Regions from separate parts of the Homo sapiens genome. Here all the other regions are linked to region 4. The links are contacts of gene promoters, found by promoter capture Hi-C in blood cells and fetal thymus (Javierre and others, 2016). All regions are on one chromosome and are shown on one strand. Each heading gives the region's core, a stretch centred on a gene start or on the middle of the fragment in contact. The rest is flanking DNA. Distances are from core to core; before and after follow the strand shown. Region 1 holds the start of LOC124904075. Region 2 overlaps RPTOR (regulatory associated protein of MTOR complex 1). Region 3 overlaps RPTOR (regulatory associated protein of MTOR complex 1). Region 4 holds the start of ENDOV (endonuclease V). Region 5 overlaps RPTOR (regulatory associated protein of MTOR complex 1). Region 6 overlaps RPTOR (regulatory associated protein of MTOR complex 1). Region 7 overlaps RPTOR (regulatory associated protein of MTOR complex 1).

The links. Contacts are between HindIII fragments. The CHiCAGO score rates a contact against its expected background, and 5 or more counts as called.
Region 1: a contact is called between a fragment that was not itself captured here and the fragment with the promoter of ENDOV in region 4, in 14 of 17 cell types (naive CD4 T cells, naive CD8 T cells, M1 macrophages and 11 more). The highest score is 14.3, in naive CD4 T cells.
Region 2: a fragment that was not itself captured here is called in contact with the fragment with the promoter of ENDOV in region 4 in 2 of 17 cell types (M2 macrophages and M1 macrophages); the score reaches 7.7 in M2 macrophages.
Region 3: a contact is called between a fragment that was not itself captured here and the fragment with the promoter of ENDOV in region 4, in 1 of 17 cell types (M2 macrophages). The highest score is 5.1, in M2 macrophages.
Region 5: a contact is called between a fragment that was not itself captured here and the fragment with the promoter of ENDOV in region 4, in 1 of 17 cell types (M2 macrophages). The highest score is 6.1, in M2 macrophages.
Region 6: a fragment that was not itself captured here is called in contact with the fragment with the promoter of ENDOV in region 4 in 15 of 17 cell types (activated CD4 T cells, naive CD4 T cells, naive CD8 T cells and 12 more); the score reaches 13.6 in activated CD4 T cells.
Region 7: a contact is called between a fragment that was not itself captured here and the fragment with the promoter of ENDOV in region 4, in 1 of 17 cell types (M2 macrophages). The highest score is 5.8, in M2 macrophages.

The regions. Positions count from the first base shown.
Region 1 is chr17:80,889,847-80,892,620 of GRCh38, forward strand. It overlaps RPTOR (regulatory associated protein of MTOR complex 1), which reads left to right. Exons shown (of 34, transcript NM_020761.3): 18 at 1,874-1,991. It overlaps LOC124904075, which reads right to left and starts at 2,325. Exons shown (of 2, transcript XM_047437253.1): 1 at 414-2,325. The coding sequence starts at 898. The HindIII fragment of the contact is 9,458 bases long and covers 1-2,774 here.
Region 2 is chr17:80,815,783-80,818,798 of GRCh38, forward strand. The region is part of intron 7 of RPTOR (regulatory associated protein of MTOR complex 1); the gene reads left to right. Among named protein-coding and RNA genes, the nearest start is that of CHMP6, 170 kb to the right of the region's middle. The HindIII fragment of the contact is 7,384 bases long and covers 1-3,016 here.
Region 3 is chr17:80,766,342-80,769,320 of GRCh38, forward strand. All of the region lies in intron 6 of RPTOR (regulatory associated protein of MTOR complex 1), which reads left to right. Among named protein-coding and RNA genes, the nearest start is that of RPTOR, 220 kb to the left of the region's middle. The HindIII fragment of the contact is 7,759 bases long and covers 1-2,979 here.
Region 4 is chr17:80,413,706-80,416,631 of GRCh38, forward strand. ENDOV (endonuclease V) reads left to right here and starts at 1,462. Exons shown (of 10, transcript NM_173627.5): 1 at 1,462-1,545; 2 at 1,945-2,116. The coding sequence starts at 1,490. It overlaps RNF213-AS1 (RNF213 antisense RNA 1), which reads right to left and starts at 1,463. Exons shown (of 2, transcript NR_029376.1): 1 at 1,224-1,463. RefSeq lists an enhancer at 1,895-1,984. The HindIII fragment of the contact is 3,926 bases long and covers 906-2,926 here.
Region 5 is chr17:80,723,401-80,726,100 of GRCh38, forward strand. The region is part of intron 4 of RPTOR (regulatory associated protein of MTOR complex 1); the gene reads left to right. Among named protein-coding and RNA genes, the nearest start is that of RPTOR, 180 kb to the left of the region's middle. RefSeq lists an enhancer at 2,372-2,700. The HindIII fragment of the contact is 6,253 bases long and covers 1-2,700 here.
Region 6 is chr17:80,908,515-80,911,269 of GRCh38, forward strand. It overlaps RPTOR (regulatory associated protein of MTOR complex 1), which reads left to right. Exons shown (of 34, transcript NM_020761.3): 21 at 297-415. Among named protein-coding and RNA genes, the nearest start is that of CHMP6, 82 kb to the right of the region's middle. RefSeq lists enhancers at 1,878-2,107, 2,228-2,417. The HindIII fragment of the contact is 255 bases long and covers 1,335-1,589 here.
Region 7 is chr17:80,785,384-80,788,120 of GRCh38, forward strand. The region is part of intron 6 of RPTOR (regulatory associated protein of MTOR complex 1); the gene reads left to right. Among named protein-coding and RNA genes, the nearest start is that of CHMP6, 210 kb to the right of the region's middle. The HindIII fragment of the contact is 3,482 bases long and covers 1-2,737 here.

The sequences.
Region 1 (2,774 bases), core at 187-2,686, 480 kb after region 4:
GGAGGCCCCCGTATGCAGCAGGATGTGCGGCCTCCGAGGGAGGCCCCCGTACGCAGCAGGATGTGCGGCCTCCGAGGGAGGCCCCCGTACGCAGCAGGATGTGCGGCCTCCGAGGGAGGCCCCCGTACACAGCAGGATGTGCGGCCTCCGAGGGAGGCCCCCGTACGCAGCAGGATGTGTGTTCGGGAGTGAGGGAGGCCCCTGTATGCAGCAGGATGTGTGTTCAGGAGTGAGGGATGTGCGGCCCCCGAGGGAGGCCCCGTGCGCAGCAGGATGTGTGTTCGGGAGTGAGTGCTCTCTGGACATTCCCCTTGAATAACAGACGTGGCCCCTGTTGGCCTCCCCTGAATCGAAGGGCCCACCACCTCGGTGCACGTTAATCCATGCCAGCTCCCAGCTCTGGCTTTTCTCACCTGATGTCAGAAGGAAAGGGAAAAAAATCGGTGCTTTCTGAAGACAGGTGCAGCCTTGATCTTCCCTGGAAGGGGCCCAGTGGGTGTTCGCTTTGTCGGAGGCCCCGTCTCGGCAGTGCCTCACTCCTCTTGCACAGGGAAGGCAGCGGGGGTTCTGTGGTTTGCCAGGGGAGCCTGGGACAGTGACTTAGGCAGTTGGAGACGAGCGCCAGAACCGGGGCGTGGGCCATGGCCGTGAAGACGCACACTGGGCCATGGCCCTTGGTGCCCAGCAGGGTGGGAGGGGCGGGTGGAGGGTGATGCCAGGGCTCCATTCTGAGCAGTGAGAGACTTGCAGTTCCATCGGCGCAAATCAAGAGGGCGCTGCAGGCTGAAGGGAAAGTAGACGGTGCCCGCAGTTCATAGGGCAGGGAGAGTTTGGGGTGCAGGTGAAGAGCCGGCAGCTGGACAGCCAGCCTGGACCTAGGAGAGTGAGGGGCCGGCATCAGGGAAACCACAAAGCATGATAGGAGGAAGCCCGGGGCATGTAAGGCTGGGGTGGGAAAGTGCGTGTACAGAGAGTGCGTAGACGGAGAGTGGGGTGGCCACGAGAAGACCCTGGTCCCTGGTGGGCGCCCATCCAGAGCCTGCTCATCCAGCCGCTGTGGAGACAGGGGCGTCACGCGACTAGCAAGGGGTCCTCTCACAGCGCTTGGCTTTCTGCTAAGAATCCGTATTTTTTCTTTTCAGAAAAAAAAAAGGCAGAAAAAGTTGTCGTAGGGAAAAAAACGTTCTTTCCGCTTTTTAAACCTACATCCCCCTTCTGTTCCCCAGTGACTTCTAGGATCTCCAGCTGTTCCTGTCACAGCACTGAACTGTCCTAAAAGAGAGGCAAATTGTGTCTGTTCCCTTGGACCAAGGCATTTGGTCCTAAAGATGATGTTTTAGTTCTACAACTTTTCCCGTTCCCTCTTAGGGACTAGAAACATCTACCAATGAAAGTTTCACATGTGTTGAAAAGAGCAGGCTTCGGCTTGTCCGCTGCACTCGGCCCTGGGGCGCTCAGATTCAGAAAGGCCGCCAGCCATCGGGTGTGATCTAGAGCGGCGTTTTCAGCCAGGGTCCCAGTGGTCACCGTAAGCGAGAGGCTGTGAGGCCTCCTACCTTTCCCTCTCTGGAGTCCTGTGACTCACCGTGTCCTTACGAGACCCCCGATGCGTCGTGCGCCTCTAGCAGTGGGGAGGATTCTGGCAGGCATTCTGGGCTTCCCCCGTGAGCCAGTGGCCTGCCGTCTCCCAGCACTCTGCTATTCCAAGGCCTCTGCTCTGACGGTTCGAAAAGGGATGGTCCCTGTTTCTGATGCCAATTGCACGGTTTTGTCTTAACCTTTCTTTTTTCTGTTGGTGACTCAAGTCTCACTGCTGCTCCACAATCATTTTCCAGCCCCAGTGACTGTTATTGTCCCTTCTCCCTCTCGGCAGGAGCTGGTGGTGGCTCTGAGTCATCTTGTGGTTCAGTATGAAAGCAATTTCTGCACCGTGGCCCTGCAGTTCATAGAAGAGGAAAAGAACTACGCCTTGCCTTCTCCAGCAACCACAGGTATGGCGTCTTCTCCTGTGAACCCGCAGAGCACCTCGCCTGGCGGTTCTAGTGCAGGCCGCGGCCCAGTCTTGCTCACCCTCGCAGAGTCTAAGCGCAGGTTTCTCAGATACCTGCCGCAAGGGGTCCCTGTTTTTCTCATCTTTTTAGGCACCTGCCAGATTTAAAAGGGCAGGAAAGAGGGCCACACTGACCCTCTTACATTTTTCCTTTCTTTTTACCCTTTTTGGAAATTAAACTCACAGAGACCTTGAAGTATGACAAAACTTCTGCAGTAGGAGCTTGCGGAAAAGCGCAGGGGCCGTCTTCCTGCGATGAGTAATTTCATCACACTGCTCTTGGCTCCGTGGCTCGGTGAGTCATGTCAGGCGTGCTTTCTCACACGTGTCGTTTTGACTGGAGAGTACAGTTCCTATCTCATCGCTGCCGGCAGCCCCTCCCGCTTCCACACAGCCGTCTCTGCCGTGCAGGGGCTTGTCATCAGCAGTGAGGCCTCACTGCTTCTAGGAAGCCCAGGAGGGGAGAAGGGTGAGCCAGACTGAGTGTGGACGGTCATTGCTCTGCTGCGGCTTCCCGGGGAGCACGGCTCACGGCCCACGTCACCATGCACCTCGTGTGCACTCGGACAGGCCGCAGCCACCAGCCTCTCCCCTGTTGTCTTTTGTAATTTAATATGCACAGAGCCACAAGCGGTTGTTGTTTGTCCAGTGCTATCCCGCAGAGCCTCCGCTCACGTCTGAGTCTCCCTGAGCTGTGCAGCCCCTGCTCTGACATTTGTTGCAG
Region 2 (3,016 bases), core at 403-2,902, 400 kb after region 4:
GGACAGTCCGTCACGTGCAGAGCATCCTCCCGACTGGCGAGGTGGCTTCCACGTGCCCCGTCAATCAGGGCTGGACAGTCCGTCACGTGCAGAGCATCCTCCCGACTGGCGAGGTGGCTTCCACGTGCCCCGTCAATCAGGGCTGGACAGTCCATCACGTGCAGAGCATCCTCCCGACTGGCGAGGTGGCTTCCACGGAGCGATTCTCGAGACCCGAGGGGCGTGGACACAGCTTCTACGCAGGCAGTCGGAGAGCCACTGGGCTCTTGGCCCTCACTCCTCCAGCCAGAGGAGTTTTGCTTTCCTTTGTCCTGCATAAGATTTTGTTTGAGTAGCTAAAAAGTAATGGAAAACCACCACAATGATCAGTGGAGAACCTTGTATGTTTGGGGGCCCAGCTGTGTGTTAAGAGCCATCAGCCTGTGTAGCGTGAGCCAGGGCAGAAGGGCCTGGCCCGAGAATGCTGTCTGGACGCCTGGCAGGCCTGGCTGCAGGGTGCCGCAGAGGAGGTGGGAAGAGGCATCTTTGGGAGGCCTGGCTGGCCCCAGTGCAGGACCAGAGAGCAGCTGAGGGCCTGGGGCCTCCGGGGTTTCGAGCCTCAGTGAAACGCGAATCCACAGGGACTCTTGGAGTGGGGACCAGCAGTGGAGAAGATGGAGGCATTGCACTTGATTTTACACACGTTCCGCTTGAGCTGTGATGCCAGGCAAGCCGAGGGTGAAGGGAAGCGCCTTGTCGTGAGACCTGGAAGGAGCAGGGCTGCCGCTGGAGCAGATCCTGGGGTGTGAAAAGAGCTGGCGACGCAGTGCTCCCAGAGGTCACTAAGGGAGGAGCCGGGTGCCAGGGGAGAGACAGTCAGGATTTGCAGATTCAGCAAATGAAGAAAGGCAAGGCTGGCCAGCCACTGGAGTGAGGGGGCTTGGGAGGAGGTGGCTTGGAAGGGCGGTGAGGACAGAAACCAGCTTTCGCATGGCAGGTAAGAGGAGCCTACGGGGGCCAAGGAGAGCTTAGCTAGTGCCAGCTTCAGGGCCACATGGGTTTTCCCCAGGGTAGACAGGCATAAGGCCCCAGCGGCCACTGCATGTTGAGCCCCAGCAGCCAGTGGTCTCCCCGGCCCATCCCTGGTCCTCCCATTCCTGCGAGGCGGCTGCGGGGTCTGGGTCTGGTTTCTGCCACTTGTCTCTAGTGGAAGACACACCCTCATAGAGCCTCAGTTTCTCCATCTGAAAAGCAAGTGAACATAAGACCTGCCTGGCGTGGGCATTGGGAAGGAAGTCTTGGTGGACTTGGCAGGTGGGTGACTTGGGGGCCTGGGTCCACCGAGCCGCACAGCGGGAGGCACGGCATGAGTGCCCAGCTGGCAGCGGTGGTGGAGGTAGTGTAAATGTTCATGCTGAAGAAAATCCAAGCCTCTGAGAGGCTGGGCAGCTAGTCCACAGTCACAGAGCCAGTCTCTGGCCAAATTCAAGCCCCCGTCTGTCTGGCTCCCAAGTTTAGGCCTGGAAGTGAAGGAAAAGGAAGGCTGGGGGTTCTGCAGGGGAGACATCCTGATGACCTCACAGCCCCTTGTCCTTGTCCTCTGCATGGATGGGGCCAGGGACGGCAGTGAGGCGGCCACCCCATGGGGAGGAGATCATGTGTTGCGTCTCCTGAGTGCAGACGGAGCTGAAGGCGCCCCCGAGAATCCAGGTGAGAGCAGGAACCTGGAGAGACTGGGAGGCAAGCACCTGCCACGTGGGCACCTGTGAGTGAACCGGGGAGGGACAGGGCCCCAAGGAGTGGGTGGCACCTCATGCTGGAAGTGGGGAGCAGGCAGAGTGATGGGGCAAATGACAGGGAGCCGGGCAGGTCCGGGAGAAGGGGTGGGGGAGGGAGCACCCTTGGGAGAGTGACTGTGATGGGCTGTGATCCCTCAGGCATCTGGTGGAGAATCAAAGGCGAGGGCTGGAGACACAGCAGCTCTTGTTGAGTGACAAGTTCCCAGCAGAGGGTGGTGGTGGGGACAGCCAGGGGTGTCAGGGAAGAAGAAGGGGCCTTAGGGGAAGGGCACCTGCTTGGCATTTCGGAGCTGGCCTGGCACTCTACAGTGGTTGCACAAATGGGGTGTGGATGCTGAAGTTCTGCCAGAGTCTAGCAGGGCCGGGGTCATCATGATGACCTGGATGTTGCAGTAAGGAAGATAAATCCTGGCAAGAAACCGCATGCCACAGGTGAGCCCGGAAGTGTGGGGGAAGGTGGAGATAAACCCTCCTGCCAATGGCAGTGAAGGAGAGTTTGAGGAGGCGCGGGCCCTGTTGGGGGGCCACCCCGGCATCTGCCACATCTGTTGTTGGAGTGTCATCTGTTTTATTTTAGTCGCCATTTTGCATCAGGGTCAGCTGTGTTGACTCAGCAGAGAAACAGGTACCACGAGTCATCCAGCCATAGCACGGCTGGGACCAGCGCTTGAGTTTTCTTGTCTCCCAATTCAGGAGTCTTTTCCTGAACTGTAGCTTTTTACAGTTTTCACATAGAAGTCCTTGATTAACACTCTGAATTTAAATTTTAAAAGAGCCACCTTGATCATTAACCCTTTGAGGGTTCAGAGAAACTTCTAGAATGAAACATGGTCTGACATGGACAACATACACCAATAGGCTTCTTCTGTGGTCCCCTCGTGATCTCAGTGGCCTCCCGAGTTGGGCAAGACTCAGCATTGGTTAGGATCAGGTACAGAAAGGAAATCAGAAACAAATCGTTTCTGCAAGGATTTAATTTTATGTGACGTGAAAAGTGAGGGATGCTGGACTCGGTTCCACCTTGTCACCCCCAGTAGGACCAGGCCTGCTGGATCAAGAAGCCTCATCAGCTTTTGCTCACTGGATGGTTGGTTCATCGACTTGAATGATTTCTGGGTCTGTCTGAAGTCGGCTGGGCAGATGACTCTGTCTGGTTTCACGATGAGCTTAGGGAAGAGACCAGTGGGATTTTCAGGACCATGTTGGGAGAGTCTAGCTTTGCATTTATTTACTGGTGA
Region 3 (2,979 bases), core at 3-2,502, 350 kb after region 4:
CATGTCTGGTCCTTTTTTAAAAAATAGAGACAGGGTCTCTCCCTTTTACTTAGATGGGAGTGCAGTGACACAGTCATAGCTCACTGCATCCTTGAACTCCTGGGCTCAAGTGATCCTCCTGCTTTAGCCTCCCAAAGTGCTGGAATTCCAGGCATGAGCCACCACGCCTGATCCCAGCATGTGCGTTTTCACACTTAACATATCTGGGGTCCAGAAGCATCTTACAATAAGTAACATACCTGTTTAGTTGGCAGTTCTTTTCCTTTGTTAATAGTGTATAGAAATGCTTGCAAAGGTCCACCTAGAGGTGTGCACTGTACCCTTTCTTACTGCTGTTTGTAAGCTCACTGTTTGTCACTAGGGAAAGAAACAGGCACCATTACTTAACTAGGTGTTCATGTACCGGCAATAATTGATCTCAAAATTTAATGCTATTTGTAGTTTTTAATTAAAAAACTCTCAAATGTATGGTCTAAGTTTTTCTTTAAGTCCAGAAAAAAAAGAATACATTAAACCCTAAGTAAGTAGAAGAAAAGAAATAATAAAGAGAAGAGCAAAAATAAACAGAAGTTGACCCCAAAATTTGTAAAAATTCATGAAACTAGTTGATAGTTTTTGAAAGGTTCATTAAAATTGTCAAAACTTTTTCTAGAGTGCTCAAGAAAAATAGAAGGAAGATACAAATGACTTTCATCAGAAATGAAAGAGGGCACATCCTTACTGATCCTACAGATGTTAAAAGAATAAGGGGCCAGGTGCGGGGGCTCATGCCTATAATCCCAGCACTTTGGGAGGCCGAGGCAGGTGGATCGCTTGAGCCCAGGAGTTCAAGACCAGCCTGGGCAACATAGCAAAACCCCATCTCTACAAAATATAAAAATTACTCGTGCGTGGTGGCATACGCTTGTAGTCCCAGCTACTTGGGAGGCTGAGGTGGGAGGATCACTGGGAGGCATTGAGGCTGTAGTGAGCAGTGCAGTGATCACGTCACTGTGGTCCAGCATAGACCACAGAGTGAGACCCTGTCTCCAAAAATGAAAATTATAAGTAAATAAAAGGAGAATAAGGGAATCATTTTAATCATGAAGGACCATATGCCAGTAAATTCTTCATCTTAGATGCAATGGATAAATTCTGTGAAAGACACAAGTTATCAAATCTGACAGAAGAATAAAAAGAAAATTTGGATAGGATATATCTGTTAAGTAAATTAAATTTCTGGTTAACAACCATTCAAAGACAACCCCGCACCCAGATATCTTTACTAGTGAATTTTACCAAACCTTTAAGATGAACAGAATAGACAGACAACCTTTGTGAAATGTTTAAATATCTGCTGACCATATTAAGTTGCTGTCCCAAGGCTCGGTGTAATTAGTAATGGTAAAAGCTAAGAAAATCTTTACAAGGTTACTGCCTAACTGTTGACTAATTTGACCAAATTTTATGCACCTGGGGCCTTTTACAAATCAGCTTACTTCCCTAAGAAAAAGTGTTACTTGAATTTTTTTTTTATGATTTTATTTTATTTTATTATTTTTGAGACAGAGTCTTGCTGTGTCGCCAGGCTGGAGTGCAGTGGTGCAATCTCAGCTCACTGCAACCTCTGACTCCCTGTTTCAAGTGATTCTCCTGCCTCAGCCTTCTGAGTAGCTGGGATTACAGGCACGTAACACCATGCCTGGCTAATTTTTGTATTTTTAGTAGAGATGGGGTTTCACCATGTTAGCCAGGATGGTCTCGATTTCCAGACCTCGTGATCCGCCCGCCTCGGCCTCCCAAAGTGCTGGGATTACAGGCGTGAGCCACCGCGCCTGACCACGTGAATTTTTTTTTAAGAGCAGCTTGCCTTTATATTTTTGGTTCACGTTGGGACTTACCTTCTAGTCATTTACTGTTGGCTCACATTTCCTCTTCTCCCATGTCTGTCTAACGGGAGAACCATGGAGTGCGTGATCTCACTTGGGGTCTCAGTAGGCCGCTTAGTGAGTCCCAAAGACTTTTGTGAGAGTTTGAATGCATCCGTGTGTAATGTATCTGGAGGACTCAAGGGTAGCAAGTATACACAGAGTATCCTTTTAACATAAAAGGAGCATTCAGAAAAGAATTAAGACTGTGCAGTTCAGCCCACAGTTGGGCTCTCATAGCTACTGAGTTATTCATGTAATCCTCGGAAATCAGCTTGGGTGAAATACTGCACGGGAAAGAGTGCTCAGCCCCGGCCTCACTCCTGCCTGTCCCAGGCCTCCTCACTGTCCGTGTCTCATGGGAAGAAAGTCATTTGTTGTCTCCTGCTTGATGTCATCATCACTATGTTCCAGATTAGCTTCAGGACTTGTTTGAAATCATACCTACTAATCGACTGACTTATATCCCCATCACACGGTGACATATTAACTGCTTATTTGCCTCTTTGTATCTTCTTCTTAAACTTCTGGGCATTTTAGTGGCAGTTTGGCTTCTTGTTTGATTTATGTGCCTAAGCGTGCTCATGCCTCCATATTTAATCAGTGACGTTAGGTCACATTGCATGCAAAAACTGTCAGTGCATTCAGCTCCGTATTTAATAGCAGGCATTCATGACCCTTTTTTAAATAAAAAAGCGATCATTTGATTTGTGCTAAACTGGACAGTATATTGCGGAAGCCATTTTCATCCTCATTTTACTTGTGCTGAGATCGAATCGATAATGCCTCTTGATGGCATCATTGTTGGAACGCCAGAACCGTGCTGTCACATAGACCTGTATGGAGGGTGGCATGTGTCCCACGCCAGAGCCATGCCATCATGTAGGCCTGTGTGGAGGGTGGCATGGTGTCCCACGCCAGAACCAAGCTGGCAAGTAGACCCATAAGGATGGTGGCATGGTGTTGCCAGCCTTGTTGTAAAATGGTGTGAATTAATCCAGGAGACGTTAGCCTCTTCTTTGGTTTCTCGTTATTTGTACTGCTAAGTAAATGTTGTATATGTATGTTCAGT
Region 4 (2,926 bases), core at 212-2,711:
GCGTCATTTTGTAAGCCCCTTTCCATTTTGTAGACCTTGGTCAAAGTGAAACATTCCACGGGGGTTCGAGCCATGAGAAACAGCCTGCCTCTTAACATATTCTGCTGGGACAAAGCGCCAGGAACACCACATTCTGCCGGAACCACCTCATCCTGGGAACACGTTAACATCTTCCCGGACAGCAAGCCATACTGCCTAGATCCCTCCTGCCCAGGCCTATGAGTACCCCAGCCTGTAATCGCTGGTGGGCTCTGGCATTAAGCTGGCCCCCGACAGGTGTTTGCAATACACCTGTGTTGCTGTAGAGCCGCCCGCGCGCCGGCAATCTCACTGTGCGTCATTCTTTAACCTTCACCTTCCCTTCAAAACCTAACACCCTTGACGTTTATATTCAGGCTATTATATATACATACACACATACACCCTTCTGAATCCTCCCAGGAGAATATAAAACCATGGGTTAAACTGCTACACTTCAGCTTCAGTGGCTGCCTTTCAGTGCTTCAAATACACCAACCTCTTTCCCACCCCGGGACCTGCACGAGAAAGCTGCTCCACTCACCCGCCGTGCTCTTTCACTCACCCTTCAGGTGTCTTCAATATCGCCTCTCAGGCCTTTCCCAACCACCGGTTTAAAGTCGGCTCCCCACAAATAAATACATATTCTCCCTCACAGTACTTCGCACAACACCTGGCACAGCGAGAGCACTGAACCAACACTCATTCAATGAGGAACACGAGGTAAGAACCAAGACCCCCCAAGGTCGCCGTACTTTGTCTGGTAGGAGAAGCTTTCTGCCCAGCAAGGTCCGACCCAGATGAAACCCCGTCCAAGTCTGCAGCACCCCCGTGAGTCCAGCCCGCTAAACTGTGAAGAATTTAAATACACGACACCTGCCCTCAAAAGCTTGAGGGCACCCCTGAGCTGCCATCGAGGTGGGGGCGTCAACGACAGGCGCTCAGTAAGTGCTCCTGAGGCAACTGCCGGGCTGTCCTGGACCTGGTGAATCCTTTCGGGGTTCAGCAAAGGCGGACGCTGACCGGGCCAAGGAGTGGGACCTGCAGTGCTGGACCACCCTTTTCCAAGCGCAGAAGTGCCGTGCCCGCCGGCTCTCAACAGGGCAAGAGGCCCCTCTCGCCGTGCAGAGCGCAGCGCTTGCGGCGGGGACAGCAGAGGCGGGACGGGCGTCACGGAGTTCCCGGGTCCTCGCGCGGTCACTTACCTGGCCTCAGCTATCCGCTGAAAAAGGGGCGGACGGCCTCCCGGGATCCGAGCCGATATCGCGCGCGGCGCCGCGGGGCAACCTGAAGCCGTGTGCGTGCGTGTGCGTTCACGCAGGGGCTCACCCAGCGGCCACGGGCTTCTGAAGACCCGGGTGGGAAGTGCGGCCCGGGAAAGCGCAAGCGTCTCCATGGCAACGAGGGCGGACGGCGTCAGAGCGAGTCGCTTCCGGAAGTGACGTGCGGAAGGGGTGCCCGGGACGAAGCCATGGCCCTGGAGGCGGCGGGAGGGCCGCCGGAGGAAACGCTGTCACTGTGGAAACGGTAATGCTGTCAGGCGACGCGCAGGAGGCGGGGGCCGAGGCCGGGCGGCCCTTCGCGGACCCTCCGAGCTCATAGTCTTCAGGCTGTGGAATCGGAGCTGCCACCGCCCGAGACTCCAAAGCAAAGCCCAGTTTCCGGCGCGGAAGCGGAGGGATCTCAGGAATTGTAGTCCGCGGGGTGGGCGCGGTTCTCGCTTCCGGCCAGTTTGTCTGGCCTGCGCTTGCGCGGGTCTCCGCCGCCTGGGCTCCTAGGGACTGTGGCCTCGGCGGTATGTCCCTTGCTTTCCCTTGAAGCGGGAGAAGACCCGGCAGAGGCGCTCTGTCCGCTGCAGCCGCGCGGGTGGAGGAGGCAGAGTCTGAGGTGTGACCCCGACCAAGTTTGACGCTTCTGTCCTCCTAGGGAGCAAGCTCGGCTGAAGGCCCACGTCGTAGACCGGGACACCGAGGCGTGGCAGCGAGACCCCGCCTTCTCGGGTCTGCAGAGGGTCGGGGGCGTTGACGTGTCCTTCGTGAAAGGGGACAGTGTCCGCGCTTGTGCTTCCCTGGTGGTGCTCAGCTTCCCTGAGCTCGAGGTAACCTGGGAGGACGCCGAGCTCGAGGCGGGCCCCTCGGTGGGCTCGGGCGTGCGGTCTCCGGGACAGGGAGCAGTGCAAGCGTAGAACCCGGCTTCTCGTTTTGTAGGATGTCATTAATAGTCTGGGGAGTTGGCCGGGCGCGGTGGCTCACGCCTGCAATCCCAGCACTTTGGGAGGCTGAGGCGGGGGAATCACCTGAGGTCGGGAGTTCGAGACCAGCCTGACCAACATGGAGAAACCCGGTCTCTACTAAAAATACAAAATTAGACGGGTGTGGTGGCATATACCTGTAATCCCAGCTACTCGGAAGGCTGAGGCGGGAGAATCGCTTGAACCCGGGAGGCGGAGGTTGCGGTGAGCCAACATCACGCCATTGCACTCCAGCCTCGGCAACAAGAGCGAAACTCCATCTCAAAAAAAAAAAAAAAAAAAAAAAGTCTGGGGAGTCTTGGAAGGGAAAAAAAGGCAAAAATTAAGGGAATTCTGTGACTATTAAGAATCAGCTCATGAGCTTTATCTTCAAGTCTGATTGTTATCTTGGGTTCTTCATCTCAGTGACCTGTCCACCACGCTCCCAGTTGCCCAAGCTGGAGATCTGCATCCTCCTGGGCCCCTCCGTTCCTCTCGCGTCCAGTTGCACACTAGCTCGCTTTTATTCTGCCTCTTAAATGTCGCTGGAATCTGTCCCCTTGTCTGTTTCCCCTCTGCTCCTTCCCTGGCTGTGCCACCATCACTCCTGTGGGTTCCTGAGCAGCATTTTCATGGGTGCCCTGGCTCAAATGTTCCTCCTCAGTGGTTTCTTTTCCA
Region 5 (2,700 bases), core at 115-2,614, 310 kb after region 4:
TTGCTTCTCTTGTTGTTTATTTACTTGGTTGTTTGTTTATATCCATATGGAGCCACTAATATTTATTTTACTTCTTGGGTTATAATCCATTATTATTATCATTATTTATTTTGTTACTGAAATTGTTTCAACTTTGACCACTGACACACCTTCTAGCATTTTCTCTACCACAGCCCTGGATCAACCATTTTTCCAAGGATCTTTGGCTTTTTTGAGAGTGGGATTTAGAAACCAAGATGTGGCCTCTTTGTGTGCTCGTTACTACTGGAGCATTAGTGTTACTAGGCCTAGGCCCTCTCCGTGGACTTAGCTAAGTGATGCATTTGTGTGTAGTAAGCTGTAAACACATGCATATTGATTTGCGTATCTATGTACAGGTGTGGAAACTAGATTTTAATGACTAAACAGGAGGTAAGGGACTAGGGACTGGAATAGACTAATCTTTCCAGAAGTTTGGTGATACTACTGAATAACACTGTTTTTTCTAGCTTTCTCTGTAATACAATTTTTGCAATAAATACATAGAGAGCATGTGATTAGAGGAGCCTGTCTGTTGGGGAGACCTCGAAGAAAGAACAAGGCTAAGCAGGGATGTTTAGTTTCTGCAAGAGGTAACTTATGTTTGTAGATAGGAGAAAGGGGGTTGCTGAAGAAAGTATAAATCAGTGGAGTAAAGGATGAGAAATGGGAAGGTATGAGAAGATTAATTCAGGACAGAGATACAGCATTTGACTTGGCAAGCCCAAGCACTCTTCTCTGAGACGTGGGAGGGAAGGAGAGGTGAATACAAATGTGGTGGAGCTTTGAAGCTGGACATGAGAGCTGGTTCCCCTTGGAGCCTGTCTCCTGTTAAGTGAGAAGCCAGGCCATGTCCTGAGAGGTGGGGGCCATGAGTGCCAGGATGGAAGGGTCAGGAGAGAGGAGACATGGCAACCCACCCCTTCCTCATGTTTACTGCCTGGCATAGTTGGCATTTTTCTTTATGTTGAGGAAAATGCTGCTATGATCTGATTAGTAGGTGCTAAATACCCCAGTTTGTATAAAGTAGGATGGTATCTTTGCAGGGCTAATGAAATGGCCAAATCAGGTTTGGGTAAGGCCACCTGGAGATCCATGTCCTTCAGCTGATGGCAGTCTTCCTGTGTATCCCAGCTATCCACAGAGATGCTTGCGAGTTCTACCATCGCAACAGCGGCGAGGCCAGGTTCTCCCATCCCAACAGTGGTGAGGCCAGAAATTTCCAGGCTCATCACATCTACCTGCTCAGCCTGTGGTGGGTTGGAGTTGGGGTTGGGACACCCCACCTGCCCTTCCAGAGGGCGACTGTCTGCACCTGCCCAGTGTGCCCCCCGTTCCCTCCTCTGCAGTGTCAGAGCTGCTGTGCCTGGATCTGAGGAGGGGCCGTGGGAGAAGAAGCCGCCCCCACGACACTTGCGCTTGCCTTTTCAGCTGGAGCACGGGGTGGCGGCACCGTGTCGTTCTGCCCACCTCACCCACTGGGATGCAAACTTGCTGAGGCCAGGGCTTCTTCCTGCCATGCCTTGCCACCACGCCCCTTGCCTCCCCTGGGACATGCCGTTCTCTTCTTTGTACTCATCTGTTTGGTATGTGAGGGGTTTTGCGTTTTGTCTTCTGCTCTGTAATTTAAAGGGATAAAACGCTCACATTTAACTTAAGCCAAAACCCAGTTTCAGTCTTTCCACCAGAAATCCCTGAGATGTAGAATTGTGGGAAGCTCCTTGGAGGCTGGCGGGCTGCTGGGCTGCCCCTCTGTGGGAAGACAGCCTGCAGGCTTCAGTGGGCTGGGCTCTCCCGGCCATGGCTGCCTTGGTGGCTAACTCAGGCTGCGGCGACAGACTGGTGAGGCAGGCGGACTCTTCCCCTGATGTTTAATATAACCTGACAGATAAAGTGGATTGTAATGAAGAAATTATCTAAAACCCATTTCTATTTCTTTGTTTGAAAAGAAAACATGGCCTTGAATATGATTCTTGGAGAAAAAGAAGAGACGCTTTGATTAGGAATTATTCTCTGTACTTTTAGTTTTGGATCAAGAAGAAATGAAAACCATTGGCCACAAGCTCTTGAGTGTTCCAAGCAGCCTTCCGTGTATACAGGGGGCTTTTCAATTCTGGGCTGGTGTGGGTTGGTGCAGTCAGGATGACAGAGGAATATTCCACAGGACAACGAGGAGTGACTCTACTGTGGGCGTTGTTTCTGCCCCTGCAGCCGGGGCTGTGAGGCTGCAGGCTGCCCTTTGCTGGTTTGCAGGGGCCATAATTCTGGCCTGGAGCTTGACAAACGACCCAGGACCTCTGAGATGGGAAATGAGGTCTGCATCCCGTGTTCTAATCAGGATTCGCTATCAAAGGTCATTTTCCACACTGTGGCTTAATAGAGTTGGTTTTATATTCCCTGAGGGATACAGACTTCCAAATTGTTGCAGTCTCACTAACTGTAATGTATACAGCTCATGTTTGAAAGGAAATCGCCTCTCCTCCAAGGCAGCGGTTCTCAACCAGGGAAACTTTTCCCCTCAGGGGACACTGGGACATTTGGCAATGTCCAGCAACCTGGAGATTGTCACATCTAGGTGTGGGGGTGGCTGGGTGGTGCTGCGGAAGATTGTGTGGTGCACAGGGCAGCCCCACAAGGAGCGGCCCGGCCCCAAATGGCCCTGGTGCTGAGAGGGACAGACGC
Region 6 (2,755 bases), core at 212-2,711, 490 kb after region 4:
ATGCCCTCCGATCCGCTGAGGCATTTCAAGGAAAGTTACACCCTTTCCAACGCAGTTTTCCTTTTAGAAAGATTTGGCCTCAGTAGATGAATCCATGTGATCAAGCCTAGTGATCAGCTAGGATTCTTGAATCTCGGGACCCGTTGCCAGAATAACAAAATGGGGGCTTCCTGTAACCTCGGCTCTTTAAAGCAACACTTCTGATACCAGGGTTAGGGTTTCAGAAAATGCAGCCGCCTTAGGAGCCTCATTGGCAGCTACTTTCCACTAAAACATCTTCCATTTCTCTCTCTCAGGAGTTTCCTTTAACAGTGTTTACACTCAGATTTGGAGAGTCCTGCTGCACCTGGCTGCTGACCCCTATCCAGAGGTCTCGGACGTGGCCATGAAAGTACTCAACAGCATCGCCTACAAGGTACGTGCCGGGCGCTCCCCACCGCGCTCCAGCTGCTGGTTCTCGGTTACGAGTATGCATGCCAGGAACTCCAGGTGTGCCCGGGTCCACACCACAGTTTAGAAAGTAACAAAACGAGCTTCAGCAAATATCTTAAATCTGGAGATGTACACAGTACACCCCAAACTGTGTCTGTGCAGCTCCCACGTGGGCAGAGGGTGCTGGATTTACTGATGCCTGTCAAGGCAATTAGGGGAGGACTGACATTATCTTTCAGGATCCTCTGGTGTCTGGGTGAGCTACAGTGCTGGCCCTTCTTCCATTTTTTTTTTCTTTCTTTACTTAATTATTTATAAGAGATGGGGTCTCCCTGTGTTGCCCAGGCTGGTCTTGAACTCCTGGGCTCAAGGGATCCTCCTGCCTCAGCCTCCCAAAGTGCTGGGATTACAAGCGTGAGCCACTGCACCTGTTTTTTGTTTTTGTAAGACAGTCTCACTCTGTCCAGACTAGAATGCAGTGACCTGATCACGGCTCACTGTAGCCTCCAACTCCTGGGCTCAAGCAATCCTCCCACCTCAGCCTTGGAAGTAGCTGGGACTACAGGTGCACACCACCACACCCGGCTAATTTTTAAATTTTTTGTAGAGACAGAGTCTCAGTGTGTCGCCCAAGCTGGTCTCTAACTCCTCAGTTCAAGTGATCCTCCTGCCTTGGCCTCCTGAAGTGCTGGGATTACAGGCATGAGCCACCACACCCAGACTTTTCTTCCCTTTCTGATAGCAGTAATTTTTGACTCATTCAAAACCCTTCTAGTTAATGGTTTCTTATTCATGGCCATTCTAGCTCAAGGGAACTTTTCAAAGAATCAGTTTTTGGTTTCATTGGTTTTTCTCTGTTGTTTGTCCATTTTCCATTTGATTGATTGAGCTTTCATCAATAAAGCTTGCTTTCTTCTGCTTACTTTGAGTTTAATTTGCTCTTCTCATCCTAGTTTCTTAAGGTAGAAGCAGAGGTCATTGATTTTAGTCCTTTCTCTTTGGGGACTGTAAACTCTTCTCAGTCCCTTTTGTGAGCTCTGGGCATTTGGCCTACCGCCTTCCCGCTGTTTTTTCTCTGCCTCATGGGTTGTCACTCTACCCTTGAGCAGATGAATACTTAGTCAAAGACCCCAGGGGCCTCTCCTGCAGACCTTGGAAGCTTTCCCCTCTCCAGTGCTCTGTCCTGCAAATTGTCACCACCTCAGCCTCCCTGGAGCCCCAGTCTCTGTCTCCTGTTCCCTGAAAGTGCTGGGCTCCCCGTCTCTGCACTGTGGCCTGGGACTGCCTGAAACTACCTGCAAGCCGGACACAGGGCAGCTGTTTATTTCCGTTCTCTCAGGGATCACAAGCCCGTGACACCCAGCACCCAGTGTCCAAAAACAATTGTTTACGGTATTTGTCCTGGTTTTCTAGTTGCTTATGGAAGTTGGATGATTTATGTGGAATTAGAAGTCACTCATTATAGCACTTAAAAATTTTTTGGTAACTTTTTGATAAAACTTCAAAAGCTTACAGAAATGTTGCAGGAAGAATGCAGGGAAAGGCCACACTCTTGCAGCCTCTGTGGTGTTCTACGTCTTCATCTGACCTCGTCACGGCTATGGCGTTGCCTCGGGTATCACTCAGTGCCAGGGTCTGCAGGGTCGAGGAGCCACGGCTTCCCATCCTAGTCCATCGCTTTTTCCAAATGAGCTATCGAGTCTCCCCCTCTCATTTGCTGTGGCCTTCTGGGTCCTGGCCGGCCATCGAGCCAGGGTTCCTGCAGCTCCTCAGCTCCTTTTGCTGATATTATACTTCTGTGGCTTTCGGTTCCTTCAACTAAGTTATTTTCTGTTGGTCTAGTTATATCTTAGATGGAAATCACCTTACCGTCTGCAGTTGGTTCTTCTTCAGTTCTTTTTTTTTTTTTTTCTCTTGCTCTGTTGCCAGGCTGGAGTGCAGTGGCACAATCTCAGCTCACTGCAGCCTCCGCCTCCCAGGTTCAAGCAGTTCTGCTGCCTCAGCCTCCCAAGTAGCTGGGACTACAGGCGTGAGCCACCACACCCGGCTAATTTTTGTATTTTTAGGAGAGACGAGGGGTTTCACCGTGTTGGCCAGGATGGTCTCGGTCTCTTGACCTCGTGATCCGCCTGCCTCGGCCTCCCAAAGTGCTGGGATTACAGGCGTGAGCCACTGCGCCTGGCCTGTTCTTTATGGTATCACCGGTATAGTCACAAGTAGCCTATTGGCCAACTTGGAAAGGTCCAGATTGTTTAATTCTGCACCGGCCTCCCCTCCTGCAGCGGACTCTGCCACTTCCTTCGTCACCGCATCCCTGCAGCGG
Region 7 (2,737 bases), core at 238-2,737, 370 kb after region 4:
ACAGGCAGACCAGGTGGTCTTCAGTATATCTTGATGAACAAATAAAAGGTTGGCAGTTTTAAAAAGAGGAGAACTGTTTCGTGTTGCTCTTTGAGAAGGTTCTTCGGCACTAGTGAGGTTTCTGGGGAGCTGGCAGGTTCCCGACTGGTGAGTGGGTGAAATGAGTCCTCGAATCACAGCAGGTTGTGTCGGTTGCCATTAGTGAAAACTGGTTTCAAGTGGCAGCAGGCAGTTTCCGCGGCCAGGCTGGCAGAGAACTACATTGCTGGAGGAATGTTTTGTGGCCCGAGTGCTTTCCCCCGGCCCCTTGACTCTGACTGAGTTGGGTATGACAAGAATGACCCAGTTTGTATGATCAGCTCTCACAGTGACAATGACAGTCATGATGGGGATGTGTTTTGAGGGCCTTTTCCTCTCCTTTGCCGAGGAACTGCACAGGGAATGCTGATGGCGAGACCTCCAGGGAAGCCACTTATGTCTTCACCACTAGAGAAGGGGGGACTCTGCATGTTGGCGAGAGCAGGGGGGTGCCACACTCCAGCACATCGTGTGTTCACCTTCTAACCGGGAAGCTCTCCTTGTTCAGGAGTTTTCATAGAGCGTCTGTCCATGGGGAGAGGAGTGGCTAGGTGGGGTGGGTGGTGGTGTCCCGGAACCAGTCCCCCAGGGATACCCAGGGATGACTGTATATGCCCGGACCAAGTCCTGAAGGTCATAGCAGAGGCCGCTTCTGCACAGTGGGGTGGGAGAGTGAAAGTTAGACTGACGCACTTTTGCGTGACACATGTCTGTATGATTTGGGTTTTTATAGTGACCGCCATTTGCTTTTATTCTAAAATAAATCAGCATGATTCAGTGTTGTGTAAAAGATAAATATGAAAATGCTAAGCTATCTCAACATGGTGGGTTTATACAAATTTTTCACTTTTTTATGGTAAATACATGTGGGTTTTTTTTTAATTAGGAGGAAACAAAGGAATTTTCATTCTCAAAAATGAAAACAGCATTCAATAGTTATTTGTATGATATTTGACAAGGTTACCGAGCTGAACATTAATTTGTTCTTCATTGTTAAAAGAAAACTCTAGGCAAATTGAATACAACAGAGTTTAATTGAGCAAAGAACCATTCTTGAATCAGGCAGCCCCAGAACCAGAGTAGGTTCAGAGTGACACCGGCACTGCCATGTGGCTGGATACCATTCATGGGCAGAAACGAAAGTGACTCCGGAGAATGGAAGAGCCGCAGCAGCTGGATTGGCTACCGCAGGGGGTCTGCCTTGCTTGAGCCCAGTTCGAACAGTTGGCTGCCTGTGGTAGTCTGAGACTCAGCTGCCTGTCACAAGACCAGGCTGTTTATACATCAGGTTGGGTTACAGTTCACCATGTATATGGAACCATTAGGCCAAACATAAAACATGTACGGAGGCAGCCTTTAGGCGAAACTTAATTTAACATCATAAAAATCTTGAAGCCACTTGTTTGCGTACCCAGCCTGGATCCGTCACAATTCTTGCTTCATGCCACACTCATCACTAGTCCATATTTGGCCTCCTTTTAAGCAGTTAATTAACAGGTATTTTTATAGCATAATGGGTTTCCTCAAACCACCACCCAACCAAAACCCAGCCCTTGATGATGACCTGCGCCCACCACGCAGGGCGCCCTTGATGCACACGCACCTGCCGCCCCCGCCCTGTGACCACCGCCCTGAGTGCCGGGCTCATCATCCCTTCCATGCCCTTTCTACATTGCTACTATGCATCTGTGTGTATTCATTAAGACCATTACTTTTCTTTCAGATTTTAAATTTATTAAAGGCTTTAGTGCTGAATGTGATTTTGAGGACTCTTTTAAAAAAATACTTTTGGTTGGAATGTGGACATTTCCCACTTAGCATTGTGTTGCTCATGTTCCTCCATATTGATGTGTGTTTAGCTAGAGTACCCCCGTCTAACTCTGCGAATATGCCACACTGTGTGCACCTGCTACTCCTTAATGGACACTTGAGCTTTTTCAGCTTCTTCCTTTATTTGTTTGTTTTGCTTTGCTTTGGTGTATTGTATTTTATTTTTGCTATTACCAACAGAGATACTTTGAACATTCTTTTCTGTGTGTTCTTTTGAACACATGCAAGAATTTCTTATATATTGAAAAGCAGAGTTGCCGGATCATAGTGTATAGGAACATTCAGTTTTAAGGGATCATGGTAAGGTGCTTTCCCAGTGGTTGTGCCATTTTACACTCCTACAGTGGTGATGGAGACAGCCTATGATCCACATCCTTTCTAGTTCTTGGCATTGCCATTCTTGTACATTTTTGCTGAGTAGGTTTAGAATGATATCTCGTGTAGCCTGGATTTGCGTTTCTCTCATATCGCATGATGTTGAACATTTCCTCACGTTCAGTGGCCATAGTTATGTCCTCATCTTTGAGATGTCTGTTCATCCATTTTTCTATTGGATTTTTAATGCTCTTGTGGATTTATATCTAGGTTTTCAATCCTGGTTATGATGGATATTGCCCCCACCTTTTTGCTTTTCATTTTAGGACGACTACAAATGTTAACAAGTTTGTGTGTCATCATTACTTCATAGATCCCCTTCAGCGTCTCTTGGAGTTTTCTCCCCTCTAACTTTAGCTTGTCATCTGAAAGTGTCTTCCTCATGAGTCTTTTTGTGACAAGTCTTCTGAGGCCATATGTGCCTCTGAGAGTATTTTTGTCATGCTCACACATT